Regions from separate parts of the Homo sapiens genome. Here region 1 is linked to region 2. The links are contacts of gene promoters, found by promoter capture Hi-C in human tissues and cell types (Jung and others, 2019). All regions are on one chromosome and are shown on one strand. The core of a region is centred on a gene start or on the middle of the fragment in contact, and the rest is flanking DNA. Distances in the headings are between cores, read along the strand shown.

What was found. The method cuts DNA at HindIII sites, captures the fragments that hold promoters and counts their contacts. A contact is called where the count stands out against the background at its distance.
Region 1: a fragment that was not itself captured here is called in contact with the fragment with the promoter of PRPS1L1 in region 2 in 2 of the 25 tissues and cell types used here (hippocampus and mesenchymal stem cells).

Annotation. Positions count from the first base shown.
Region 1 is chr7:17,767,095-17,773,094 of GRCh38, reverse strand. No RefSeq gene overlaps it. Among named protein-coding and RNA genes, the nearest start is that of SNX13, 170 kb to the left of the region's middle. The HindIII fragment of the contact is 3,377 bases long and covers 1,736-5,112 here.
Region 2 is chr7:18,023,076-18,029,761 of GRCh38, reverse strand. PRPS1L1 (phosphoribosyl pyrophosphate synthetase 1 like 1) reads left to right here and starts at 1,916. Exons shown (of 1, transcript NM_175886.3): 1 at 1,916-2,992. The coding sequence starts at 1,980. The coding sequence ends at 2,936. The HindIII fragment of the contact is 4,496 bases long and covers 1-2,790 here.

The DNA.
Region 1 (6,000 bases), core at 2,175-4,674, 260 kb after region 2:
TGGAATATCTTTCATCAGCAGGTGCTGTTTCTTTTTCTTTTCAAGACATTAAAAGATCAAAGAAGTATGAAATGTGCCCTAAGGCAGCTGAGCTGCTAATCATACACATAAAAATGAAACTGTGATGGGGGTTGTGAACAAACGCCTTTTGGCACCTGCTTTTGTCATCTTGGTTTGTTTTTCTTCCCACAGCATTTTACACCTCCTAATTTAATTTGTGTCGGGGGGGGCCCCCCTTCTTCCAGCTGTTCAGACCTAGAGGGCACAAACACACTTTCCAGCTGTGGTTATTGCAGCTTAACATGGAGCAGGGATTGAGCCAAGAGCACTGGCCAAATCATATTCAGGCCTTGAGGTCTAGCGCTCACACCGCCTTATCCACTGTGAGCTGCTAACTTGAGACTGTGAGTCTGATAGGGAGTCTGCAAAGTTCAAACACTGTCAGGAAGTTTATCCTATTCAAACAGTGCTTTCAAGGGGACTTAGAGGGACATTGGCTCAGAGTGGCCCATGTAGGAGCTTTGCAATATGAAAAGGAATTTTGGTTGGAGTAGCTCCTGTGACATTCTCGCCATACTCCATTGAATTTGTGCCAGTCCACCTCTCCATTCTCAGGAGAGTCAAGCTGCTGTTTTGATATGCTTTCTAGGGAATATAGGCAGATCCTGGGTGCCAACAGCAGGCACACACACCAAGCTAGGAGTATGAAAAATTAGAAAGTTTGCTTTTGGTTCTGCACTTTAACACAATGGCAATAATATGAACAGACAGTGGTAGTATGCTTTCTCTTTGGACCACAGACAATGGGAATTTAACCTTAATCCTCAGTCCTGCTGCTTTCCAAAGGAAGATGAAAGGTAGTTGCAGAGTTGAGCAGACAGAATGATACGAATTTGAAAATCTCAGCAGGTGTGGGGCTCAGTGCGCTATCCTCAGGGACAGTGCTTCTCTAGATCTGTTTTCTGCTGAAGCCATCACTGTAAAACTACTGTTCATTATTTCTGTAACTTCCCCAGGACGATAAGGGATGTCAGCAATAACATGGTACATTAAACAGACCATAAATTTATCTCCAGGACTAAAATAATACTTGAGTGCAAAAATAAATGGATCTGGCTGCCTCATAAACTAAAAACTTAGTACCCAAAGGGACAAAATAAGCCCAGAAATAATTCAAAATACATAAGAAAATTCACTTCATGATAGAAGGACATCTGAAATTAGTGGGGCAAAGAGGGCAATTTAATAATGGATGTTGCGACAAATAATGAGCTTGTTCATACCTTACCTGTGTATCACAGTAAACTTAAAATACATTAAAAATCACACATTTAGAAAGAAATCCTGAAAGCACCAGAAGAAAGTATTAGGATAATTACTTTTTATCCTTGAAGTGGAGAAGGTCTAATGATGACTCAAAATCCAAAAACCATGAAATAAATAACGCAAGTACATAAAATTAAAGATAACTTTTGCATAGTAAATTATACCATAAGTACCTAAAAAGTTAAATGAAAAATTGGGAAAATTTTTTAACTCATGTAACAAAGACTAAATTCCTAATACATACAGATCCAAAATTCAATTTGAAAAAAGATTTATTTTAAACATAAAGTCAGCATATTATACACATTCTGACCCTTGCCTTTCAGCTCAGTGAAAGCTTCTTAGTTTTTCACAGCTGCGTTTCATTGGGGGAATCATAATTTCTTTAACCATTCCCCTAGTGATGAATATATGAGTTTGTTTTTCCAAATCTTCTGCCATTAAATCATTTTTCAAAAAGAAGAATTATAATGTTCAAAAGCTTAGACTCTGAAATCTGGTTGCCTGTGGGTTCGAGTTTTGGCTCTGTCAATTTCAAGCTACTTAACCTTGGGCAAGTCTTAACCTGTCTGTTTCCTCATTTGTATAAGAGATTTGAAGTTAATAGAATCAACAACAGGAGACAGTTGTGAGGATTCAGGGTGCTAATATGTAGGTAAAGGACTTAGACTAGTACCTGGAGCACAGTAAGTCCTCTGAAAGTGTTAGCTGTTATTACCACTATGTGCCAAATGGTAGAAATTGGACTAACTTTATAAACTTCTGCTTTTATAATGTTTAGGACTCATGGTAAGAGAGGCAGAACTTAAAGGGCAGATGCTGTCTCTTAATGGCAAAAAGGGAAGTCCAATGGTGAGGCAATAACTGTTTCTTGCTGTTTAATGAACAGCTGCTTAAAAATGCAGCATGTCAGTCACCAGCGTAGACATCAGTAAATGAAAGGAGTGGCTTTGAAACGTGAATTTTATTAAGTATAGCAGGAGATTCTGCTGCAGATAGACCCAGAAGACATTTTGAGAAAATAATACTATCCCCTGGGTGAACGATACTCAAACTGTAACTATAGTGCCTTAGAGAAATTGATCAGGTTCAAGCTTCATGGACGTTAAGCCATAGTTTAGATATTTAAAAACATCATAGACCAGCCCAGGGAAGAAAATTTCAATGAAGTATCAGAATGTATGATGTTAACTTTATCAAGTCATTATTACTTCATAACTACCTTCTGGGTATGTTGCTTGTTAGTGTTTTGCATTCTAATTTATACTGTAGGTCCTGAGGTCTGGAAGCTTGATTTCTAGTTTGTCCCCTAAGTCCAGGACATATTCTCTTAACACATTTTGTTAAACACATTTTAATGCTCTCTAAACACATTTTTACGTCATTTAGAGCTACTAAAGATAGAGGGAAGTTCTAATGCTTGCTTCAAGATTTTTTGTAGCCCTGTGAGATCGAGATTGGTGGTATAAAAGAAATAGTACAAGCTTTATAGTCAGTCAAATCCCAGCCCATCAATTACTAAACTGGGAAATGTTGGGAAAGTTATTAAACTTAGAAAATCAGTTTCCTCTTTTATATCATGGTGGTAATACTGTACTCTATTCCCACAGTTATTCTAGAGAATAGAGATAATGCCCATAAAGAGGAAGCCACGCAGCAGGTTTTCAATGAATGGCAGTATTATTTGATTAAAGCTGTCTTTTCTAGGGACTTCTCTTCTTGTTGTCTGATGCCCCCTCCTGGACAGTCCAGAACCTGAGCTGAGCAACTGTCAACATCACTTGCTTGAAACTAAAGGTCATGAGGTATGCAGAAGCAGTGTTTTAGGAAGAGTCTGAAATCAAAGCCAGAGCCAGTCCAACCAAGGGGCAAATCCAGAGGGTATGGTAGAGGTGGAAACCAGAGAAATTAGATGAGGGTGGAGGTGGAAGCCTGGAGGAATTGTCTGAATGACAATATAAGATATTACTTCCCACTGATAGTTACATGCCCAGAATTTACATACATTATCCCAGTTAATCTTCACCAAAATCTCATAGGACAGTGGTCCCCAACCTTTTTGGCACCAGTGACTGTTTACGTGGAAGACAACTTTTCCACAAATGGCTGCGAGTGGGATGGTTTTGAGATGAAAGTGTTCCACCTCTGATCATTGGGCATTAGTCAGACTCTCATAAGGAGCACAACCTAGATCCCTCACATGCACAGTTCACAACAGGATTCATGCTCCTATGAGAATCTAATGCCACTGCTAATCTTACAGAATGCGAGGCCAGGTGCGGTGGCTCACACCTGTAATCCCAGCACTTTGGGAGGCCGAGGTGGGCGGATCACCTGAGGCCAGGACTTTGAGACCAGCCTGACCAACATGGCGAAACCCTGTCTCTACTAAAAATATGAAAATTAGCCCGGTGTGGTGGCGTGCGCCTGTAATCCCAGCTACTTGGCAGCCTGAGGCATGAGAATCACTTGAACCTGGGAGGCAGAGGTTGCAGTGAGCCAAGATCGCACCACTGCAGTCCAGCCTGGGCAACACAGTGAGACTTTGTTTCAAAAAACAAAACAAACAAACAAACAAACAGAAAGTGGAGTTCAGGTGATAATGCTTGCTCACCCACTGCTCACCTCCTGCTGCACAGCCTGGTTCCTAACAGGCCACAGACCAGTACCGTTGATGGCCCAGGGATTGGGGGCCCCTGCTGTAAAACATAGGAGTAAATATTAATAAATTTTGATTAAGCAATAGCTTCTTACATGTGACACCAAAAACACAAAGAACCAAAGAAAAAAATAGATACATTAGACTTTATCAAAATTAAAATTAAAAATTTTGTGTTTCAAAGAGCACTATCTAGAAAGTGAAAAAACAACCCACAGGGAGAAAATATTTGTAGATTATATATCCGTTAAGAGACTTGTAACCAGAATTTCTAAATATATATATATATAAAGACTGTATAAAGAACTCTTACAACCTAATAATAAAAAGGCAAACTATTTAATTAAAAGATGGACAAAGGATCTGAATAAACATTCCTCCAAATAAGATTTACAAATAGCGTGTGAAAAAGAAGTTCAACATCATTAGTCATTAGGGAAATAAAAACCAAAGCCACAATGAGTTAGTACCTCATATTCACTAGAATGACATTAATAAAAAAGATAAAGACATGGAGAAATACAAAACTGATGGGAATGTAAAATGGTGCAGCCCCTTTAAAAAACAGTGTGGCAGCTCTTCAAAATGTTTAGCATCGAGCTACCATAATACCCAGCAGTCATGCCCAGATTTATACGCAAGGGAAATGAAAACATATATCCACACAAATTCTTGTACACGAATGTTTATAGCAGCACTATTAATAACAACCCGAAGATGGAGGCAACACAAATATCCATCAATGAATGTATAAATAAAATGTATTTATACAATGGAATTTTATTTGGTTGTAACAAGGAAAAAGTTTTAATACAGTCTACAATATGGATAGAACTTGAAAATACTATGCTAAGTGAAAGAAACTAGTCACAAAAGGCCACATAATGTATAATTTCATTTATATGAAATGACCCAACAGGGAAATTCCATGGAAACACAAAGTAGATTAGTGTTTACCAGGGGCTGCGGGAAGGAAGAGAGCTGGGGAGTGACTGCTAATGGATATGTAGTTCCTTTCTGGGGTGATGAAAACATTCTAGAATTAAATAGTGGGGATGGTTGCATAATTTTATGAATATACAGACATACCTCATTTTATTGTACTTCTTCACAAACTGAAAGTTTCTGGCAATCCTGTGTCAAGCAAGTCTTAATCATTGGCATCCTCCAATGAAATATACCTGCTTTGTGTCTCTGATTCACCTTTTGGTAATTCTTTTTAATATGTCAAACTTTTATTATAATTTTTAAATTTTATTTTAAATTTTATTTTTCCATAAGTTACTGGGGTACAGGTAGTATTTGGTTACATGAGTAAGTTCTTTAATGGTGATTTGTGAGATTTTGGTGCACCCATCACCCAAGAAGTATACACTGCACCATATTTATAATCTTTTATCCCTCGCCCCCCTCCCACCCTTCCCCCCAAGTCCCCAAAGTCCATTGTATCACTCTTATGCCTCTGCATCCTCATAGCTTAGCTCCCACATATCAGTGAGAACATACGATGTTTGGTTTCCATTCCTGAGTTACATCACTTAGAATAATAATCTCCAAGGCCAGGCGTGGTGGCTCACGCCTGTAATCCCAGCACTTTGGGAGGCCAAAGTGGGCGGATCACCTGAGGTCAGGAGTTCTAGACCAGCCTGGTCAACATGGTGAAACCCCACTTCTACTAAAAATACAAAAATCAGCCAGGTGTGGTGGTGGGCATCTGTAATCCCAGCTACTTGGGAGGCTGAGGCAGGAGAATCACTTGAATCCGGGAGGCAGAGGTTGTGGTGAGCCAAGACCACACCATTGCACTCCAGTCTGGGAAACAAGAGTGAAACTCTGTCTCAAAAAAAAAAAAAAAATAATAATAATAATAATAATAGTCTCCAATCTCATCTAGGTCACTGCAAATGCTGTTAATTAATTCCTTTTTATGGCTGTGTAGTATTCAATTGTATATATGTACCACAGTTTCTTTATCTACTCATTGATTGATGGGCATTTGGGTTGGTTCCACGATT
Region 2 (6,686 bases), core at 667-3,166:
ATTAAACCTGTTTAGAATCTGTTTTGTTTTTTAAACAACACTGAAAAATGTGTGACACACAGAATAGTAAGAGAAAAATAAATTGAAACTACAAATACTATTAGTGCTTCTAAATTAAGCCACGGGATTTTTAGAAATCACTTTATGTAGTCTGGCTAAGGGTGAGAATTATGTGGTATAGGTAGGTCTGTTGATTTTTTGTGTGTGTGATAAAAAGAATATGAATGAAGGGTTATGGACAGAAATGGGCTGGCATACACTGTCAACCAGGAAGAGGCTGAACTAGAGAGAAAACCATGTTGATGCCAGGAGAGAAATGATTGGATCAGCAGCAAGCCATTTTGGTGTAAAATTTAAAACATAGCTGTTTATTTGAGTTTATAATAATACCTCATTCAATATATAAAACTACCTTTTTATAGCTAAGTAATGTTTTTCACAGACATTGCTGAATCTTACCCATCTTTGTTGCCTACCCCATTTCTTATCCCATTTCTGAGTTTATCCTATTCATGAACCCAACACATTAAGGAAGCCCAGAAGTGTGGTGAGAAAATCTCTTAAATTATTTGGTTATCTTACAATATGAAAAAAATGATGATTTGGTTTTAGGCTAAATAAAAACACCCTGGTATCCAAATGTCAGGCACACAATTAGCAAGATATAAATGGTTGATCTGTATCTGATGCCTCCATTATTTTTATGAAATCATTGGCATCTATGGTCCTTTCTGCCTCCTTCCTCACTATTTCCAGCCCCGATACGCCATAGAAGCTGTATACTTAAAATTTGCTAACAAACATTTAATTACCAAATACATTTTGTTCATCATTTTTACTACAAAAGTAATAAATGTTCAAATGCCACACTGATAGCAGTAAAATGTAACAGTCCTCCTTCATTCTCAACTCTCACAACCTACTCCCCTCTCCAAAGGTAATTATTATAAAGAGGACTTCCATGCTAATTGGATGCTTTCAGTATCACATAATCTTAAATACATAAATATAATACTATGATATTTTTGTGACTGACTTTACCTTTAAAAAAATACCTAGGAGACATTTCCACATGATTACACTTAATCTATTTAATGGTCGCATATGTATATACAATAAATTATTTGGTAATTTACCTATTGATGAACATTTGTTGGTTCCCATATTTTGCTTTTATAAACAATTCTAGGGCAATTACTATTTGTCATGCACAATTTTTATACCCTAGAAGTAGTATAATACCTGACATATAGGAGGTGTTCACAAAATATTTATTGCATGAATGAATACAGCTACACTACTATGTAGCCATATATATTTGGGGTGCTTGTGAAAATTTCTCTGAAATAGATTCCTAGAAGTATACATGATGAGTCAAAGTTTATGTGCAAAATTACCCATGCAAAATCTACATATTTATACATTCCATCCGAATAGAAGACCTTATCTTAACATTTTGGCTACTTGATGTGTGAAAATAGCGTTTTCTTGATTACTTCCATTGTTTCACGTTTCTTATCCATTTTTTTTTTACTGTGATTGCCTATTTATGCCATTTTTCAACTTTCTATTTTATTGTCTTTTTCTCACTTCATTGGGGAAATTCTTTCTAAAATAATCTTTTGCATATACTTTAGTAGGTAATTTTCCTTTTAAACTTGGGTTTTGCTTTGTAGTTTTATGTTTTTATGCATTCAAATTTGTTTAAATAGCCCTGTGAAACTAATATAGGTGCTAATAGAAAAAAACTCCATACACTGTAAATACTTGATTATTTAGTCTAAAAGTGTGAAGTGGGAGGTGGCAAGCAGAAATTTTTTCAAGAGACCCAGGGTCAATTTGGGACCGCGCGCCGCAAGGGGGAAGGGACCCTAACGGTTGAGTAACAACCGGAAGCCATTAGAGTCTGTGCTTCACTTCCGTTCCAGCCTCAGCGGCAGCTGGATCGCTCGACGGAGTGCCTCTGGTAGTTGGCCAAGACGCCGAATATCAAAATCTTCAGCGGCAGCTCCCACCAGGACTTATCCCAGAAAATTGCTGACCGCCTGGGCCTGGAGCTAGGCAAGGTGGTGACTAAGAAATTCAGCAACCAGGAGACCTGCGTGGAAATTGATGAGAGTGTGCGTGGAGAGGATGTCTACATCGTTCAGAGTGGTTGTGGCGAAATCAACGACAGTCTAATGGAGCTTTTGATCATGATTAATGCCTGCAAGATTGCTTCAGCTAGCCGAGTTACTGCAGTCATCCCATGCTTCCCTTATGCCCGACAGGATAAGAAGGATAAGAGCCGGTCCCCAATCTCTGCCAAGCTTGTTGCAAATATGCTCTCTATAGCAGGTGCGGATCATATCATCACCATGGACCTACATGCTTCTCAAATTCAGGGCTTTTTTGATATCCCAGTAGACAACTTGTATGCAGAGCCAACTGTCCTGAAGTGGATAAGGGAGAATATCCCTGAGTGGAAGAACTGCATTATTGTCTCGCCAGATGCTGGTGGAGCTAAAAGAGTGACCTCCATTGCAGACCAGTTGAATGTGGACTTTGCTTTGATTCATAAAGAACGGAAGAAGGCCAATGAAGTGGACTGCATAGTGCTAGTGGGAGATGTGAATGATCGTGTGGCTATCCTTGTAGATGACATGGCAGACACTTGTGTTACAATCTGCCTCGCAGCTGACAAACTTCTCTCAGCTGGAGCAACCAGAGTTTATGCTATCTTGACTCATGGAATCTTTTCTGGCCCAGCCATTTCTCGCATCAACACTGCATGCTTTGAAGCAGTGGTAGTCACCAATACCATACCTCAAGATGAGAAGATGAAGCATTGCTCCAAAATACGAGTAATTGACATCTCCATGATCCTTGCAGAAGCCATAAGGAGAACTCATAATGGGGAATCTGTTTCCTACCTGTTCAGCCATGTTCCTTTATAACAGAATAACTTCTAGGTTATGCTATTTTAAAATAAAATAAGATTAATAAAAACAAACCTTGCCTTTATTTTTTCTTAGGTTTGATTAAAAGTTCAGCAGAAGATCCAGCTTGCTCCAGTGTAACTTTCTACATCCCACATCAGGTATATAAGAGTTTACCTTAAATTAGGGAAAAACAGGTTAAGAATAATCACTAGGATTTCCTGACTGGGTTGTCTCATCTGGCTTCTTTGATGATTTTGTTAGCCCAGCAGCTTTAACTACAGCCCTTCTGCTGCAAAGATTTCAGACTTCTGAGGGTGTTTTGTAGAGGTGTTTGAAAGTGGTTGGAAAGCTTACATGTAAATGCTTCGGAGTTTTCTTTTTTCAGAACAACTAGCAATAAAGCCACCCAATCTACCCCCTGCCCCAAACCCCCACTTTGTGTCACAAATTCTCCAAGTTCGATGCTCAGTTGCAGCAAGAGCCCTGAGCCACCACAAAATTAATTCTGGTTGCTGAACACCCTCAACAGCAGGAATAGGCAACTTTCAGCTTGAGCAGCCATTGGGATCTTGAGAGGAAGCAACAAGTACAGTAAATGCTTCTTGAGAGGAGGAAGATTGATCTGTCACCATCTATTTGGACACTATCTATCTTGGATTCTCAGTTATACCTGTTCCTTTTGATTTAGCTTTACCTCCACCCATCTTGACCTTTTCATTGCTAAATATCCTACTGGGCCCCAAATGGTCAGGGTACCATAGTCTTCTGGAAGGCAAACCCACTTTTTGCTATGTAATCTCTAATATTTATATTAGTTATTTTTGCTGTAACTTAATCTTCCTTAGTTTATTACCACCATTGTAGTAGATGTTAGGTGACATTGTAGTGACTTTTGTTAAATTTAAACATTTAATTTTTATCTCCCTTCCTTGTATTTTGTTGGCCCCTCAAATGACCTCAGATTTATATTTTTAAAATGTTGTTATTGTCCTTTTTAGGGAAAACCAATAAAATATCTGCATATATGTGTGGGGTGGAGAGGGGTGGTGCAGAGCACCATACCTAGATTTATCATGTGAAATTTCTGATCTCCAAGAAAAAATCACTAAGAATTTCTAAAGAGTAAAACAAAAACAAGAAAGTTTTAAAGAAACAATATTCAGATTGCTTTAAATTTTTCATTTGAACGCTTGGGCTGTAAGCAAAATGGAATAATTTCCTCACAGTTCTAAAGGAATATTATTTTTCACCTAAATTTCTGTGCTTAGCCAAACTATCATTGACATATGAAGACAATATTAAGGGACTCAGAAACTACTACCACTAGTGTTTCCTGAAAGTACTTCTTGGAGATACTGAAAACAAAAAATATATACAGCCAAGAAGAACACATAGAATAAAAGAGATGGTGGTAAGCAAAAAAAGAAGTGACACTGACAGAAAAATAATTTTTATGAAGTTACTGTAAAGATTATGGCCGTTATTAAGGTAAAACTCACATAAAATTGGGCCACATCATGAAGCAATTTTGAGGCTGGGAGGAGTTAGGGTTAGTGTAAATTTATTAAGGATCTTGTCTAGTTTTGGATGGAGGTTATTAACAACAATCATTCACATTATAGAAAAACCTGAGTTTAAATAAGGTATTTTCTAAAATTCAAGGGCAAGGAGCAAGCCAGAGAAGAAAAGAATGGGATAAATAACTTCCAAACTCCTAGAAAGAAAAAGAAGGTGGAGCAGGGGGGTGGGGGGGAATAAGCAAAACTCAACAAATTGAGCTGAAGATAGGAAATAAAGAAAGAAAACATAGCAAAGATAAAGTACCCAATATATACTATCACAAAAGTCAATAGGTTAATTTTGTAAAAGATACATTATTAGATTGGGTAGCTAAAATACCTAATAATATGCTATTTATAGGACACACATCTAAAAAGTTTGGTATAAAGAGATAGAGAAAATATACAAAGTAAATGGTAACAAAAAGAAACAAGCAATGATAGATTTAGTCAAAACAAAAGTGGAATGTGCTTTGCTGATTAAACCCACCAATAAGTTATAATCATCATGAATCTTTATCTACCTAACAACTCAACATGGAAATAGAAAAAGAAAAGTGAATCAGCGAGAATATAAGAAGAAATGGAAACGCACAATCATCATAATCAAAGAAGGAAATTTTGATAAAACTCTCATAAGTTATCAAGAAAAGGTATTATAGGGTTTAAATGACTCCATTATCACAACTTAATATAGAAATTAAACATAATTTACATTTCAAGTATGCATGAAGCAAATATAACAGGTTTCACAGGTTTTAAAGATTTTTTAAAAAGAAAAAATACATAATAGGTCATAAAAAGTCTTAATAAATTTCTTAAAGAAATGTATGTAGACTATATATAGTATAGTAGCATTACTACTATCATCTTAACAATATTATGAAAAAATAAAACTATCAGTAAAATAGGAATAGAACAAACCTTGCTTGACCTGCTAGAGAAAATCTGGTATAGACCTAATTAAGGACATACTTAATGATGAAACATTGAAAACATTCCCATTAAATTTCTAAACCAATGGGAAAGAGGCAAGGAAAAAAAGAGAGGTATCAATACCAGAAGGAAAGAGCCAAAACTTTCATTATTTGAAGATGTCATGATTGCCAACAAAAAATCCAACAATCAAAAGAAAAACTCAGAATTCATAAGAGAGGTCAGTAAAGTGAAAGTATGTAAGATAAAATGACATCTTTCCTAAATACCAGTAAAATATAATTTTAAAACATAATTGAAAGAAATGTTTCCACAGCCTAAAACAATAAAATCTACAACATGACCAGTAATAAATCCCAAAACTGTAGGATTTGTATGAAAAAATGTTGCCAAAGGATATAGAAAATACCTGAATAAGTACATTATAAACTTGGATAGGAAGAACAATATTGCAAACATGATAGTTTCCTATCAAGTCAGTGTGAACCTAATCAAAATCTTAAAGGGATTTTTTTTTTTTTTTTTTTTGTCAGAGTCTCCCTCTGTCACCCAAGCTGGAGGGTAGTGGCCCAATCTTGGCTCACTGCACCTCCGCCTCCTGGGTTCAAGTGATTCCCCTGCGTCAGCCTCCCCACTAGCTGGGATTATAGGTGTCTGCTATGACGCCCTGCTAATTTTTGTATTTTTTTTTTTCAGTAGAAACGGGATTTCACCATGTTGGCCTTGCTGGTCTTCAACTCTTGACCTCAAGCGGTCTGTCCTTCTCGGCCTCCCAAAGTGCTGAGATTATAGGTGTGAGGCACTGTACCTGGCCAAAGGGATTTTTAAGATAAGAGAATTTGACACAAGCTTATTTTAAAGTTCATCTGGAAAAGTAAATAAGCAAAAATATTCAACATCTTTTCTGTGTCACAATACATTAAAACATTTCAAAGCTACAGTGATTAAAATGTGGTATTGATGCAGGAATGGACACATAAATTAATATTGCAGAATGTATATTCCTGAAACAGACTCATGTATACTTACAGGAATTTAGTACACACATACCCTATTTAGTGGAGGGACTGTGTTACTGGAAAGAGGTACATAACTGAATCAACTCTATCAGAGAATTGCTATCACAAAGTCCCTATGGAGATGCTTTCCTGATATCCTGCCTTGGCAACCACTTCTGCGGTCTACTCAGAGTCTCCGAAGTGGGGATGAGACTACTACCTTAGTTTTTTCCTAGCTATCTTCATACAATTGTTGGTCAATCTAGATCACA